Regions from separate parts of the Homo sapiens genome. Here region 1 is linked to region 2. The links are contacts of gene promoters, found by promoter capture Hi-C in blood cells and fetal thymus (Javierre and others, 2016). All regions are on one chromosome and are shown on one strand. Each heading gives the region's core, a stretch centred on a gene start or on the middle of the fragment in contact. The rest is flanking DNA. Distances are from core to core; before and after follow the strand shown.

What was found. The method cuts DNA at HindIII sites, captures the fragments that hold promoters and counts their contacts. A CHiCAGO score of 5 or more calls a contact.
Region 1: a contact is called between a fragment that was not itself captured here and the fragment with the promoter of TRIM68 in region 2, in 1 of 17 cell types (naive CD8 T cells). The highest score is 5.4, in naive CD8 T cells.

What each region holds. Positions count from the first base shown.
Region 1 is chr11:5,805,714-5,812,932 of GRCh38, reverse strand. It overlaps OR52N2 (olfactory receptor family 52 subfamily N member 2), which reads right to left and starts at 4,009. Exons shown (of 2, transcript NM_001005174.3): 1 at 3,879-4,009. The HindIII fragment of the contact is 2,979 bases long and covers 2,739-5,717 here.
Region 2 is chr11:4,603,108-4,610,174 of GRCh38, reverse strand. It overlaps TRIM68 (tripartite motif containing 68), which reads left to right and starts at 1,944. Exons shown (of 7, transcript NM_018073.8): 1 at 1,944-2,148; 2 at 4,614-5,096; 3 at 6,835-6,930. The coding sequence starts at 4,671. RefSeq lists silencers at 1,780-1,989, 2,300-2,379. The HindIII fragment of the contact is 6,370 bases long and covers 524-6,893 here.

The DNA.
Region 1 (7,219 bases), core at 2,979-5,478, 1.2 Mb before region 2:
AATTTTTCAAACTTCCTCTTATTATTGGCTTCTAGTTTTATATAATTGTGATAGAAAAATATATTTGATATGATTTCAGTCTTTAAATTTTTATTTAAAATTTAAATTTTTTAAGACTTGTTTTCCAGCCTAAAATATAACTGATTTGGTCTGAAGTATAGTTCAAGTCCAGTGTTTCCTTGTTGATTATCTATCTGGGTGATCTTTTCATTGTTGAAAATGCGGTGTTGACATCCCCTACTATTATTTTATTGCAGTCTATCTCTCCCTTCAGCTCTATTAATATTTTCTTTATATATTTAGGTGCTGTGATATTACAGACATATATATTTACAATGGTTAATGTGCTTGATTAATTGCCCTCTGTATCAATATATAATTACCTTTACACTATTTTAAATTTTTGTTTTTCCTCATTTCTTTTTTTTTTTTTTTTTTGAGATGGAGTCTCGCTCTGTCACACAGGCTGGAGTGCAGTGGCAGGATCTCGGCTCACTGCAAGCTCCGCCTCCTGGGTTCACGCCATTCTCCTGCCTCAGCCTCCTGAGTAGCTGGGACTATAGGCGCCCGCCACCATGCCCAGCTAATTTTTTGTATTTTTTAGTAGATACAGGGTTTCACCGTGTTAGCCAGGATGGTCTAGATCTCCTGACCTCGTGATCCGCCTGCCTCGGCCTCCCAAAGTGCTGGGATTACAGGTGTGAGCCACCTTGCCCGACCCTCCTCATTTCTTCTCAAAGTAAAAAACAGGATACGTGTGCAGAATGTGCAGGTTTGTCACATAGGTATACGTGTGCCATGGTGGTTTGCTGTACCTATTGACCCATCCTTTAAGTTCCCTCCCCTCAACCCCCAACCCCCAACAGGCCTTGGTGTGTGTTGTTTCCCTCTCTATGTCCATGTGTTCTCATTGTTCAATTCCCACTTATGAGTGAGAACATGCAGTGTTTGATTTTCTGTTCCTGCCTTAACAGTTTTTGATTTAAATGCTATTTTAGCCAATATACATATAGCTACTTCTGAACTCTTTTGCCTTATATTTGCCCAAAATATCTTTTTCCATTCCTTTGCTTTCAACCTGTGTGTGTGTCTTTAGAGGTGAAGTGATGCCCTCACAGGCAGCAAATAGTTGGGTCTTCTATTTTTAATTCATTCAGCAAATCTATGTCTTCTGATTGAAGAATTTAATCATTTTGCTTTCAAGGTAATTATTGATAAGTAAGGACTTACTACAGCCATTTTGTTGTTTTCTTGTTGTTTTTTACATTCTTTCTTCCCTTCTTTTTCTCTTGTTGTCTTCTTTTGTGATAGATAATTTTCTCTAATAGTGTGCTTTCGTTCTTTACTTTCTATATTTTGTGCATCTACTATAGGTTTTTGCTTTGTGGTTACCTCAAGTCTTACATAAAACATTCTATATTTATAAAAGGCTATTTTAGGCTGATAACAACTTCAATTGCATAAAGAAGTTCCATACTTCTACTCAACTCTCCCTGATATTTTATGTTTCTGATGTCACATTTACTTCTTTTTATATTGTATATCCCTTAACAAACTATTGTAGCTGTCTATTTTTTAAATTAATTTTGTCTTTTAACATTCATATTAATGATATAGGTGATTTATATACCACCATAACAGTATTATTCAGAGTTTCACTATGTACTTACTTTTGCCAGTGACTTTTATTCTTTCATACGTTTTCATGTCACTAATCAGCATCCTGTTTTTTCAGCTTTAGCATTTCTTGTAAGGCAGGTCTGGTAGTAATACACTCTCTTAGCTTTTGAATTTCATTTTTATATTAAATCTTACATATCAAGAATAAAACAGGTGGCCAAAGTTTAAATTATATTTATATATCATATTTTATAAATATTTTAATATATTTTGTGTTTAGCCACTTTTGCCAATAGTTTTTTCAAAAATTATTTTCTCAACTTTCTGTATTACAATAAAAAAATTTTTATCTCCAAGTAGAAAGCTTTTATCATTCATCTTCTTAAACCTTTTCATTGTCTCTCTTGTTCTTACCATAAACCCAAAAATGACTCTATGAAATTACCTGACATCATAGGCATAGGGCTCTAGGTTTAGTATGAAGCAAAACAACAATAACAAAACAACAAAAAGGTAACATATTAGGTTAAAAAAAAAGATTGTGTACTATAAACTCAGATAGAACTGGCCCCTGATTTGAGCCCACTTAATCTTGTTTTCAGTCCCTTCATGTGTGGCACATTCATTCCTCAAAACCTCCATGCCGGCCATTTCCTCTTCCTTAAACAGTTCTTACCTCCCATCCCCCTTCCACAATGTTAACACCAGCTTATCTTCTGTACCACCTTGAGCATTTGTTCCTTCTGAAAGTCTTTTCTGGTATTTGTAATTTGTGACATTACATCTCATACTTATAACACATTCCTTTGCGTTTTTGCTTCATTTGACTTTTCCCCTACCTTATTTATTTATCTTTCCATCATAATTCCATTTTAAAATGTTTTGGGATTTTTGAGGGCCTCTTAATACAACCTTGTACTTTCCTCCTCAGTTCAGAGCTGAGACACACAGGAGACAAGGAGTTGACAGAGAATGTCAACAATTTTATGATATACATCTGGGAAAATGAGGCTTTAGATTTTTCAGGCAAAATACCTTGTTCTGCCTTGCCTCTGATTTAGACTAGCTTGCTCATCCAGTCCCTAGCATAGACACATACAAGTCTCTTTCGGAAAGCTTGGCCACTGACTTTGCTAATGTGGACAGACCAGAATGCGTGGCCTATTCAGGCAGGGAGATTGACTTCTGTGAAGCGTCAAGGCTCAGCATATAGCTCACCCATAGCTCACTGATATCTGATGCTTCTCCCACTCAGAGGAATGAGTTATGACAAGAAGAATGTTGTTCTAAATGAAGTCCTTATACTTGAAGTAATAAGTGTAGAATAATTAATTATACCGTTTTCCCAAATCTCTCTTCCTTTCCTTAAACTTACTGCTATTTGTTCTTTCTCATAATACAGTATCTTCTTGTACTAAATTCAGATTGTGATAGCCTCTCCTGCATGACTACTGGGTAAATAACAAAAGGAAGGCAGAAATAAAGATGTTCTTTGAAATCAATGAGAACAAAGACACAATGTGCCAGAATCTCTGGGACACATTTAAATTTCTTGTCTTTAATTAGCCCACAGAATAGTGAAACTATCCTTGGGCAATGGTAATCATTTTTCAGCTTTTTTATAGAACTGCTTTGAAAATAGCTTTACTTTTTTTTTTTTTTTGAAAGACAATGTAAGATACAATAATTTTCTCTGAGTTCCTCTTCAAAGATTTAGCCGCTAACTTCCTGGTCTTTTGTTCTCAAACTCAACTTTCCTTTTCCTTAGTTACTGTAAAACAGCCTACCGCTTCCCATCAGCTCTAATCAATAACTCACATCTGTTCCCGTAGTTACCTGGACTCATTGTTCCCCGGAAACTGCACATCTCACATGCCTCACCACTGTACCCCGTGTTCCCCTTCCCTTCCATATTTAGAAAGATATTTGCAAGTAGCCAATCTGGTCAGCTCAGCCCATGGGGGAGTGACACAGCCCATGGGGGACCCCAGCCCATGGGGGAGTGACACAGAAGTAGAAACTGTCAGAGATAAAAGCTCCCTGCTCTCCTTCCTTCCCTGTGCTCTTGTGATCTTGATTGATGCGAGTGGCACCCTTCTACAGAAGTAAATTGCCTTGCTAAGAGAACTTTTGCCTAAGTGTTGGTTTCACTTTGCGGCACTGAGCATTTATTCCTAGAGCATTTTTACACCCAACAACTCTGGGGGCTCATCTGGGATCCCCACTCTCCTTCAGAAAGGGATCTTCAGTCATCCTACCCAGGGGAGACGCATTCCAATGCCCCGTTGCGGTAGTCTCAGGGAGGGGAGATCGGGACCCACCCATTGTGATGAATAAACTCGGACTCTCAGCAACGCGAGGAGGAGAGGCTTGCAATACCGCGGTGACCAGGTAAACTCTGTGCACAGATCAAGGTAGGAAACGTCACAGGGGCGACAAAGTACTTCCTTGGTGGTTGGGGGCCGTGGGTCGGGGCATTCTGGAGGTTGAAAGTGCGTGAATGGTAGCAAGCGCTCCTGCTGCGCAGAATGAATGAGTCCAATCTGTGGTTCTGTGGTCACCTCATATGGGGGTCCCATCAGGGGTTTATGCTGACCCGCCATCAAGGCTAAGAGGAACCTGAAATATTCCCACGAGGGAAGCGGCCAGAGTGGACAAAGCGAAAGGATGCAAAGAGCCTCCAGCAGGTGGGGCTAAAGGATAGGCGAATTGAGCCTCAGTTACGATTCCAGTGAAGGATAGGCAAGAGGTCCCCTAACACAAGGGGTTGAGCCACAAGGAATCCCTCGCCAAATAGGCGAGAAATCCCTAATATGATGGGGTTGAGCCACAGCAATGCCCCGTTAGGCAAGAAATTCCTAATATGAGAGATTGCGCCTAGCCAAGACCCAATATGGGAAATATTACAAGCAAAAATGGTAAGAATAGTAACAAAGATATATACCACCTGATAGTCCCCTAAGTCTCATGAAAAAGGATATGAATAGTAACAAAGATATACCACCTGATAGTCCCCTAAGTCTCATGCTAAAATGTTGGGAAGATAATGAAAGAACTAAACATAAGAAAAAGCAACAAATGATAAAATATTGCTTTTCTATTTGGACTCAAAGACCTAACCTCAATCCGTCAATCTTCTGGCCAAAGTTTGGGTCAACTGAGGATATACTATGTCAACTTTCAGTTTAACATGTAAATAATAAAAGCCCAGTTTCTCAAGAAGAACTGGACTATGCTCTTTTTTGGAGGCAAAGACCTGTCCTCCCTTTCCCTTATGCACCTGCCCCTACTGTGGAGACAGTGAAGGAGGGTTCTCAGAGGATCCTAGCAAAGAAAACAGCACATAGGATTCCCTGGACCATCCTTTACCTAATGCCCCTAGTCCCCCATCTAATACCCCCAACCCTTCCCCTCAGGCCCAGCCTAAGTCCTCCTCTGTGAAAGGAATCCAAGCTCCTCATTCGCCAGGTGGCTTTTGACAGGCTAGCGACATCAAGGATCTGCCTCAACATGTTGTCGTTGTCGTGCAGCCTCTAGTGCGCCCCCACAGCAGAAAAAGCCCATGCTCTGCCGCAGCCTATGCCTAAGCAGACTACATTATGGGACATATGCCTTACTTTTGCCAGGGTCAAGTAATACAGGCTTCAGATGCGGCTCCAAGCAGCTAGGCATCCCCGCGGCTAAGTTTCCTGAACAAGTAGTAGATAATCTTTCAGCTGATATATCCGCTAGCATTTATTATGGGTCAGGCCAGTATTAAAAGTGAAAATATCCACCAGAAAAGACTTTGATTATTTAAAGTCACTTATATTAAAATGTACCACCAGAAAAGTATTACATGTGTATAAGTACGAGTTTAAAAGTATAGTTTAACATTAATGACTGATAATTCGCTTAATCTAGCAAGTTTCTTAATGAGATATCCAAAGCTAAAAAGAAAGCACACGTGTTTAGATTTAACTGATTACAAACGTTCGGCCAAACTTAGAAGAAACCCTCTTCAGGAATGATTAAGGGAAAAAGAACGCAACAGGTGTTCAGTAATTAATAAAGAAGTTCCTAGAGAAATTTATAAGCTGTCTGCACTTAGTCAAGCTTTAAATTACCTGCAGGACCAGGAAAGAACCATCTGTACTAATTCTAAATATGCCTTTACAGTGGCTAATACATTTAGCAAATTTCAGACTGGATTAATAGTAAAAGTCAAAGCCTTGTTCATGAGGAGTTAATCACCCAAGTATCTATTGTCCATGTCCCCAAGCACCAGAAAAGCCTGTCTTTTAAAATAACCTAGCAAATCAGATAAGCCGAACAGGCTGCTGTTTCTCCTGTAGGCACTAAAGGGAACTCAGAAAAACATTACCCATTAAAGACCCCAAGCGATGTATAACACAGTCAAAGTTTATATGTGTTTAGGAATTTATACCCTTAGCCAAACAAGTCTAGAGACTTGGTTGCCATAGATGAAATGTCTTCTATCTTCCTATTACCCTAGTAAGTCCAAACTACCTCCCAAAACAATCTACTGCCAACATTCCTACATACTTGGTTTATCTTCCACTTTCTCTTCCCTCAGAACTCAAAATTTTCCGGTACAGGTGCCACCCCTAAAGTTCCCAGTATATTGACACCAGCCTGAGGAGCTGGCCTAGTGCTTCAAACCACTGAAACTGCAGTCCAAACAGCAAGAAAAGATGGACCCATCATACCCGAGTCAAGAAAGCACCACCATCCCCAAAGTCATGGACCATTATTCAAGGGAAAAAACCCCTCAAACTAAAGTTAAGGAAAGTTTAACTCTCTTTTATCTATTCTATTACCCTTTCTTCTTTCCTCATTCTATTGCTGACCTTATTATCAATGTAACTAAGTCAGACTCATCCCAAATCATTACCTTTGAGGCTTGCCTTGTTATGCCTTGTGAAGAGGACGAACAATGGCAAAGGTATGTCTCTCCTTTAGAAAAACACCTCTGCCCCTTCAGAGAAACCACTGACCTCACACCTTGCTCATGGTGGGGGTACCAAGGCACCTTAAGTTAGGAGATACGTTCTCAATGAGCAGATGTCATCCTGACTGCCAATGAACACGGCGAGACCTCCCCAGAAGGCTGTACCAACCTAAAATCTTACCTCCTCCTTACCAAATGAACCACCCCCTCTAATTGCCAACTTTACCATTGTAACCCAGTAACTATCTCTATTAATGCTGCTACCTCTACCAACCATACGCTTCCTTTAGAAGGCTTTTACGGCTTAGGGGCAGAGGCCAATGGATACGACCCTGTAGGCCTCTTTAAAATACGCTTTATTGACCCTCCTTCACCTTCTAAACTTTCTACCCTGCCCAACAACAATGCCAAAGTAAATATTGTAGAAGTGAAGGATCTAAGACAAACTCTAGCAATTGAAACAAGGTATCAAGATATAAATGCTTAGTTGGGATGGATTCAATATTCTGTCCGCACTTTGAATAAAAGCAATTGTTATTCTTGTGTGCACAGCAGACCAGAGGCCCAGATTGTCTCCTTTCCGCTAGGATAGTCCCTCAGTCGACCAGACATGGGCTGTATAGTAGCTGTTTTCCAAGATTCCACAGC
Region 2 (7,067 bases), core at 695-3,194:
CTGACACACCACTAACACAGACAGCTATTTCTTCCCCTTTAAAGCCTTCAAGACTAAGATTATATTCTCATCAAGCCTAAGATTATACAAAACTAACTGAGGGTGTGGCTCATGCTTCCTCAGAAAGAGTAAGAGAAGAAAATAAATTAGGGGTCTCTAAGCAAGCATGTTGTATGACATGCAATAAGGTCAGTCTCTGGTCTCTTTCCAGAAAACCAGGCCTCAGATTTGTACTAACCCCCTAACTCTTCCTTAGTCCTACTTCTTCAGTGCCCCAAACAGTTCTCAGTTCTTGCTTCTCCTTTGATGCTACTCCTCCCCTAGAGCACAGATGGACACCATCCTACAGTTAGCCACTCATCTTGTTGTCCTGGTCTATCCTGGATTCAGGGCAGAGGGTTGGGGTCTGCAGCTACAGCTGTGGAATTTGTCCACGACAGAGCCTCACCTGGACACACCTGTCTCACAGCAAACAAATAAAGAAACAAACAAAACATTCTGAAGACATCTGTAAAGGAAAGCTTCTATGCCTTGGAAGTAAACTGGTCTGTCTTCAAAAGCCCTCTCTCCAGCCTTCCCCACATGAACGCAAGCCCCCACCCCCAGCTACCCTGATTGCCAGGGTTCTTGACAGTCCGTCATAGTTACAAATTGCACCTTACACATGAAAATGATCTCCCCATTAACTGTTTTAACTTCACAGAGATTCCAGAGCAGTACAACCAACTTGACCTTCAGCTCCTTAAAGGCAGAGACTATATGTCCCATAGTTGTAATCCCAGCACCCAGTAAAATATTGTCAAGAAAATTGATGTTAAATAAATGTTTAAAATGGCTTATTTCAATTAATCCATTCATTATTCTATTAGAGCAGCCATTTCTCCAAAACTGGGTGAGACAGAGGGTACAGCTCAGACCTAAGATACTTTTGTTTTTTCTCATAGACCTATTTGTTGCAGGAAATTTCTGGGCCTCACCCTTCAGAATTTTAACCATGGCCGGGGCTCAGACACTGGCATGAGCATTCTGGAGTATCTGTCCTAACAATTAAGATATTATATAATTTGGAACCGAGCTTCAATTGGAAGATTTCCTGGTTATTTTCTATGCGGATAGGAGGTGCCTTCACTTGCTTATTAAAACCTAAGTGTCAAGAGAAGGACAAGGCCCTGGGAGTACAAAGAAAAACCCATATCACTGTCTTAAGTAACAGTTTTTGTGTGTGCGTGCATGTGTCTATGTGTTTGGGTGAGGAAGGGATACCAGTTGTTTAATTTTTTTTTCCTTTTTTAATGACAATTTTTGACCAGGGTTTCCATTTCTCCATCAACTCCCGGTCTCTGTTGTCTGTTTTTCACTCTAAAAGTGGATTGTGGCAATAGTGATGACAAGCTGGTTGCTGAAGTAAAAACGAAAAAAGAGAGGGTTTTGTTTTGTTTTGTTTTGTTTTGTTTAAGAACCCAGTATTTAAAGCCTGGAACCATGAGAGGTCGCGAATCTTGCCAGGAACAGCAGAGTCCACACCATATGTGCGCCCAACCCTTTGCTAAGATGGGTCACAGAACCAGACTTGGCCAATCTCAGGCTTCTGAGTTTAACAAGTCAAACTGGCAAATGAATAGCCACCTGAGCCTCTCTTAATGCAGTGCCTGAGCGGCATCATTTGGGAGCCTCAATCCTTTGACCTATCCTAGAACTAACTCCTAGAACCCTCTACAGTTTAAGGGAATCTGAGTCGGTGAAGGGACCAGAAAAACCCAGGAAGTAGAGAAAAAACATTGACATGCCTAGAAGCGCCGAAACCCCCGTCTCATCACCAATTGGCTAGGGGTACCCTGGTCCCTGCCTGTGATTGGCTGCCCCCACAAACACACCGCCCCCTGGGCGAAGCCAACCTGGGCCCAGCCGGCCGCTCATTGGCTGCCGTCCCGCGAGCGGGGCCTAGAGCCGGGTGTAGTATTCTGGGAGCTGCGGGCTACTGGGCCTGCGCTGCCGGGCTTTGGGTTCTGGGCCTCTGCCGCTCTCTGGCCCTAAGTGCTGAGCTGCCGGGAACGGCAGCTTCTGACGCTGGGCCATTGGACGCTGCGGAACCAGGCTTCTTCACTTTGAGTTTCCGCCGCGAAGCGCCAGTCCGGGCCGAGGAGGGAGGTGGGTAGATAACTCTGCCTTTTCTGAAGTCAGATCCCGCACGCTCACTTTACCCCCACCCGCCCGCTGTCCTGGGGACCTGCCCAACGCCCTGTGGCCAGGCCAGGAGCTGCTCCCTGACTCCGGAGGTTACCGCCCGCCCCTCGACTCCCTTCCCGCTGGGGTCCTAACTGGAAGTCTTCCAGGCCCCGCCCCCTTCTCAAATGCCCTTCTCAGACTCTCGCTGTACCCTACGGAAGGCACAGTCAAAGCAACCGAACGTTTAATTATTTGAATTTTCTCAAAGTAATTCATGTATAATAAAAAGTCAAACATTAAAGCAGGTCTTATTTTGAAGAGCAGTAACTACCCATCCCCAGATCTTTGCAGAGGCTGCCACTTTTAGTTTGTCCCCATTTAGATGTTTTTAGCACCCTAAATCAAAATAATATGCGTTCCACTGTATTTCTGGATTTATCATTTTGATATTTCTTTGCCTTACTTTCTTACTGCCACAATCTTGTCAATTTTCCATCGCTATTTTAGGTCTTCCATTTGTAGCTTTAAATAATGGGTATCAACTTCCATTTATTGTTTTATTGACTTTAGATGGTGTCTCTTAATGTCTCTACTGACTTAGCTAAGGATATTAACACATCCTCCACTTTCAATCTACTATCGGTTGGAACTCAACATTTACATTTAGTTTTCACGTATTCAACAAGTATTTGAGGCACTGTTCTTGGCACTGGGGAAATAGAAATGGACAAAACAGACAATGACCCTATCCACATGAAAAAGTTCTAGTATGGGAAGTAAGACAATAGACGAATACATGGCAAATGACGTCAAAGGCAGGATCATGTAGAAGTCATTTTCAGCTGGGAGAATAGCAGGCACCCAAGTCAGGTAGATTGAATGGACGAGGGGTTTGCGGGAGTGTGTGGAAGTTTATTCCTTTGCCTAGCTGGGCACAGGTGCTGTTTCAAGGAGAGATCTTGTTAACCGGGAGCCAGGATAGATTATTTAGTAAGTTAGTGATTTACCAAAATGAGGTTTTAGGATACTGGATCCCACAGTTTGGTAGTGATAGTGGGAGGAAGAAAAGCAGGAGGCAGGGAGTCTAGTGAGAAGGCATGCCCTGCCAATGGCATATCAGAGTCCTGCAAGATTTACTGCTCTGCTTCCTGCTTCCTGCTACTGGACTGCGCTAAACCACAGTGATTTTTCTCTCCTCTTGAATTTGTATTATACCTTAAAGCTAAAGAGGTTAAGAAATTTGCCCAAGATAGATGGCAGAGCCCCAAGCCAAACATCTGTAAAATGAGAACAATAATGGCCTCTGCCTAGGGTTGTGAAATAAACCAACTTAATTCATGTAAAGTGCTCAGAACAGTGCCTGGCACATCATAGAACTGCTCAAAGAGTGCTTGCTTTTATTATTAATGTATGCTCTCAATTTACCTCACAAATGCTAAAAGGATTTTGGGTTTAGGAACTATTTCCTATGTCTAGCTGGTTAATTCATTCAACAAATATTTACTCAGCAATATCTGCATTGCAGGTGCTGTTTAGGTGCTGAGGATACAACAGGAACTAGGATCAACATGTCCCTTCCTTGTATAGATTCTAGCTGGTAACACAAACTAGCAAAGTGAATGAATAAATATTGCCAACTGAGCCAAGAGCCTGCCATTGACCAAGTTCCATGCCCATATGTGGCCCTGGCAAAAATCTCAGATTTCTTGCTGGTGTAGTGATTTCATCAATATGGGTGTGATGATCATCAAATGATCTTTGTTTTAATCTCCAAGGGATGTTATTTCATCTCTGCTTCTAGCATATCACTAAAAGCTCAGAAGACTACCTTGACATCTTGGTGAATAATAAGTACATTAGTGCTGGAGCAGTGGGCAGGGGTTTAAAAGGCACAGGAAAAGAACTGCTGTTTCCTTTACAGTTTTTGCATTTTAGTGTGCAACACAAGAAAACAAATTGAGCTTGTAGGCAATGGGCTTCTGGCATACTACCTTTTGACACTTTGAATTATATTAATGTAAATATAAACATACCAGAGAGTGAGGCTGGAGGTATTTATGGCCTTACTTCAGATACTGAAATACCACATTTTATGTGAACTTACCCAAGTTTAAGAGAAATAATGCTGATTTGTAGAGCATGATTGGAGTGGTAATGGTCAAGTAGAGCAAACCCAGAGGAAAATCAGAGTTGACCAAGTGAATGAAAACCGAGGACTCCCAATATTCACTCACTTAGGCATCCCCATTATCCCCTTCATGGTATGAGTAATGTGGCCCGTTCAGACCATGCACCCTTCAGTTGGAAAGGCCAATGCTTATTAAAGAAGGTCAGTAAAGGGTCAAAAGGAAGGTGGTTTTCCCCCAGAAATTAATTATTCCTGTTACTGATCTCTCTGTTCCTCTGTTACCTTTTTCTCTTATTTGTCTTTCTTTTCTTCTTCTCAGCCTTTACTACTTCTCCCTGGTTTCATTCATGTTCTGAGGAGGGTGTGAGAAGGAACCATGGATCCCACAGCCTTGGTGGAAGCCATTGTGGAAGAAGTGGCCTGTCCCATCTGTATGACCTTCCTGAGGGAGCCCATGAGCATTGACTGTGGCCACAGCTTCTGCCACAGCTGTCTCTCTGGACTCTGGGAGATCCCAGGAGAATCCCAGAACTGGGGTTACACCTGTCCCCTCTGTCGAGCTCCTGTCCAGCCAAGGAACCTGCGGCCTAATTGGCAGCTGGCCAATGTTGTAGAAAAAGTCCGTCTGCTAAGGCTACATCCAGGAATGGGGCTGAAGGGTGACCTGTGTGAGCGCCATGGGGAAAAGCTGAAGATGTTCTGCAAAGAGGATGTCTTGATAATGTGTGAGGCCTGCAGCCAGTCCCCAGAGCATGAGGCCCACAGTGTTGTGCCAATGGAGGATGTTGCCTGGGAGTACAAGGTGAGAGATGGAAGCTGGCCACTCCAGTCTAACCCCGGCCCCAAGTTGGCTGTTTCTAGATCAAGGGCTTGACCACCAGCACCACAGACTGAGAGCTAACTCCTTTGGTTCCTGACACCCAGAGATCCCTGGAATCTGATACAGAGAGCTATACCTTTCCTTGTATTCATGACCTTCCTTGATTTCCTGCTCTCCCACTTCCTCTACACCTACATCCTAACAGGGCTCAATTCCTAACCCAAGGCTGATTTCAGTAATGAGAATGTGAAGGAAAACAGTTTGGGTTTTAACTGAGATTCTGGATGCCTTGGATGAGTTTAGGCATGAGGCTCTTATATAGATGGTCAAGGCTACACCTGACCTGCAAACTCCTCCTAGCAGTGCTGCAAGTAGTCATTTGGCATTGAATGGATCACTTCCCTCCTTCATTTTATAGACAAAAGTGAGGCTTAGAAAGTTGAAAACATGGCAATTTATTTTAGAGGTGGAAAGAACTATGGGTGAGTCACAAGATTGAGAGAGGTCATCTGATATAGTCTTCTCAGGTCCTTTCTGACTTCAGGTCCAGTTAGTGAAAGGAAGATCAGAGGCTGTGACTCAAGTCTTCTTGCACTTTCTCCTCTCCCAAGTTTGTTTGTTTGACAAGTCATCTCTGACAAACCTGGGACTCCTTTTTTGTAGCTAACCTCATCAACTTCCAGCTTCTGGGCTTCTCTTTACTCTTTCATCAGATGCCCATAATGACATCTTTATCGGAACCATTATCTCAGTGATTCTGTGATCCAGTGATCCAGCATTGGTCTCAACTCTCTTTTTTGGAGTTGAAATAGGAAGGTGAGAGTGTAAGACAAATCCCCTGAATTAGCTTTTTTCCTATATGGGAGGGATTTCTAAAATATGAAAAGTATTTACTAACTCATTCTGTTTTTGAGACTATTAGAAAAGGGAGCTAGTATAACATAGGGGTAAAGGGCTGGATGAAATCCCAGCCCAACCATTTATTACCTGAATGACTTTGGGTAGGTCACCCTCTAAGCCTCAGTTTTCTTGTCTATAAAATAAGGTTAATACCAGCCTCAGAGGATTGTAAGTATCACATGCATATTTAGAGCTGAAAATATACCTGACACTTGATATATTTTAACAAAATAGTTGCTATTTTGTTAAAATAGCAGAATTAAATGGTGTTTCTGCACAGTTTATGCTTTTCAGTAGAAATCCCTTGCATTACTATTCTAGGAAAGTGCTTCTTACCCTTAATAAGCATATGAACCACCTGGGAGATCCATCTAAAATTGAGATTCTCATTTGGTAGGTCTAAAGTAAGGCCAAGATTCTGCATTTCTAACAAGCTCCTAGGTGATGTGGATGCTGCTGATCCACTTGAACCACATTTGGAGTAACAAGGTTCTGGCAGACAGTAAGATAAAAATAAATAAGATAAGGATAAAAATTGGCATGGAAAGGAAAGTCCAAGGTACTTTTGTGGAGAGGTTGTAAATGGACCTTTTCTTCCAGTTTACAGACATTTAGAGACTGTGGGAGTTGAAATGATTCTCAGCCCAGAGAGCTACCTCGGATGTCATCTGGGCAGAGTCTGCTTCCTCTGTGGCATTCCCTTTCCCCACAGCCTTCACTGTGGCCGGTTGCCTGAAGGACTCTGGTTCTCCCATAGCCTCCCAGTGCTAGGAAGCCTAGGCTGCCGGAGGTGGCCTCATGAGGGTTTTGTCTCTTGCAGTGGGAACTTCATGAGGCCCTCGAACATCTGAAGAAAGAGCAAGAAGAGGCCTGGAAGCTTGAAGTTGGTGAAAGGAAACGAACTGCCACCTGGAAGGCAGGTTGCCTCGTGGGGAAAGGAGTTTGTGTCAGTCGTCCTGTGTGGTCCTGGAGCTGGCCTAGGGTAGCATTCTCATCACTGTGAGGCAGAATGTGAGGCTTGAAATCACAGAGCCTAGGGTTCTAATCCCTGCT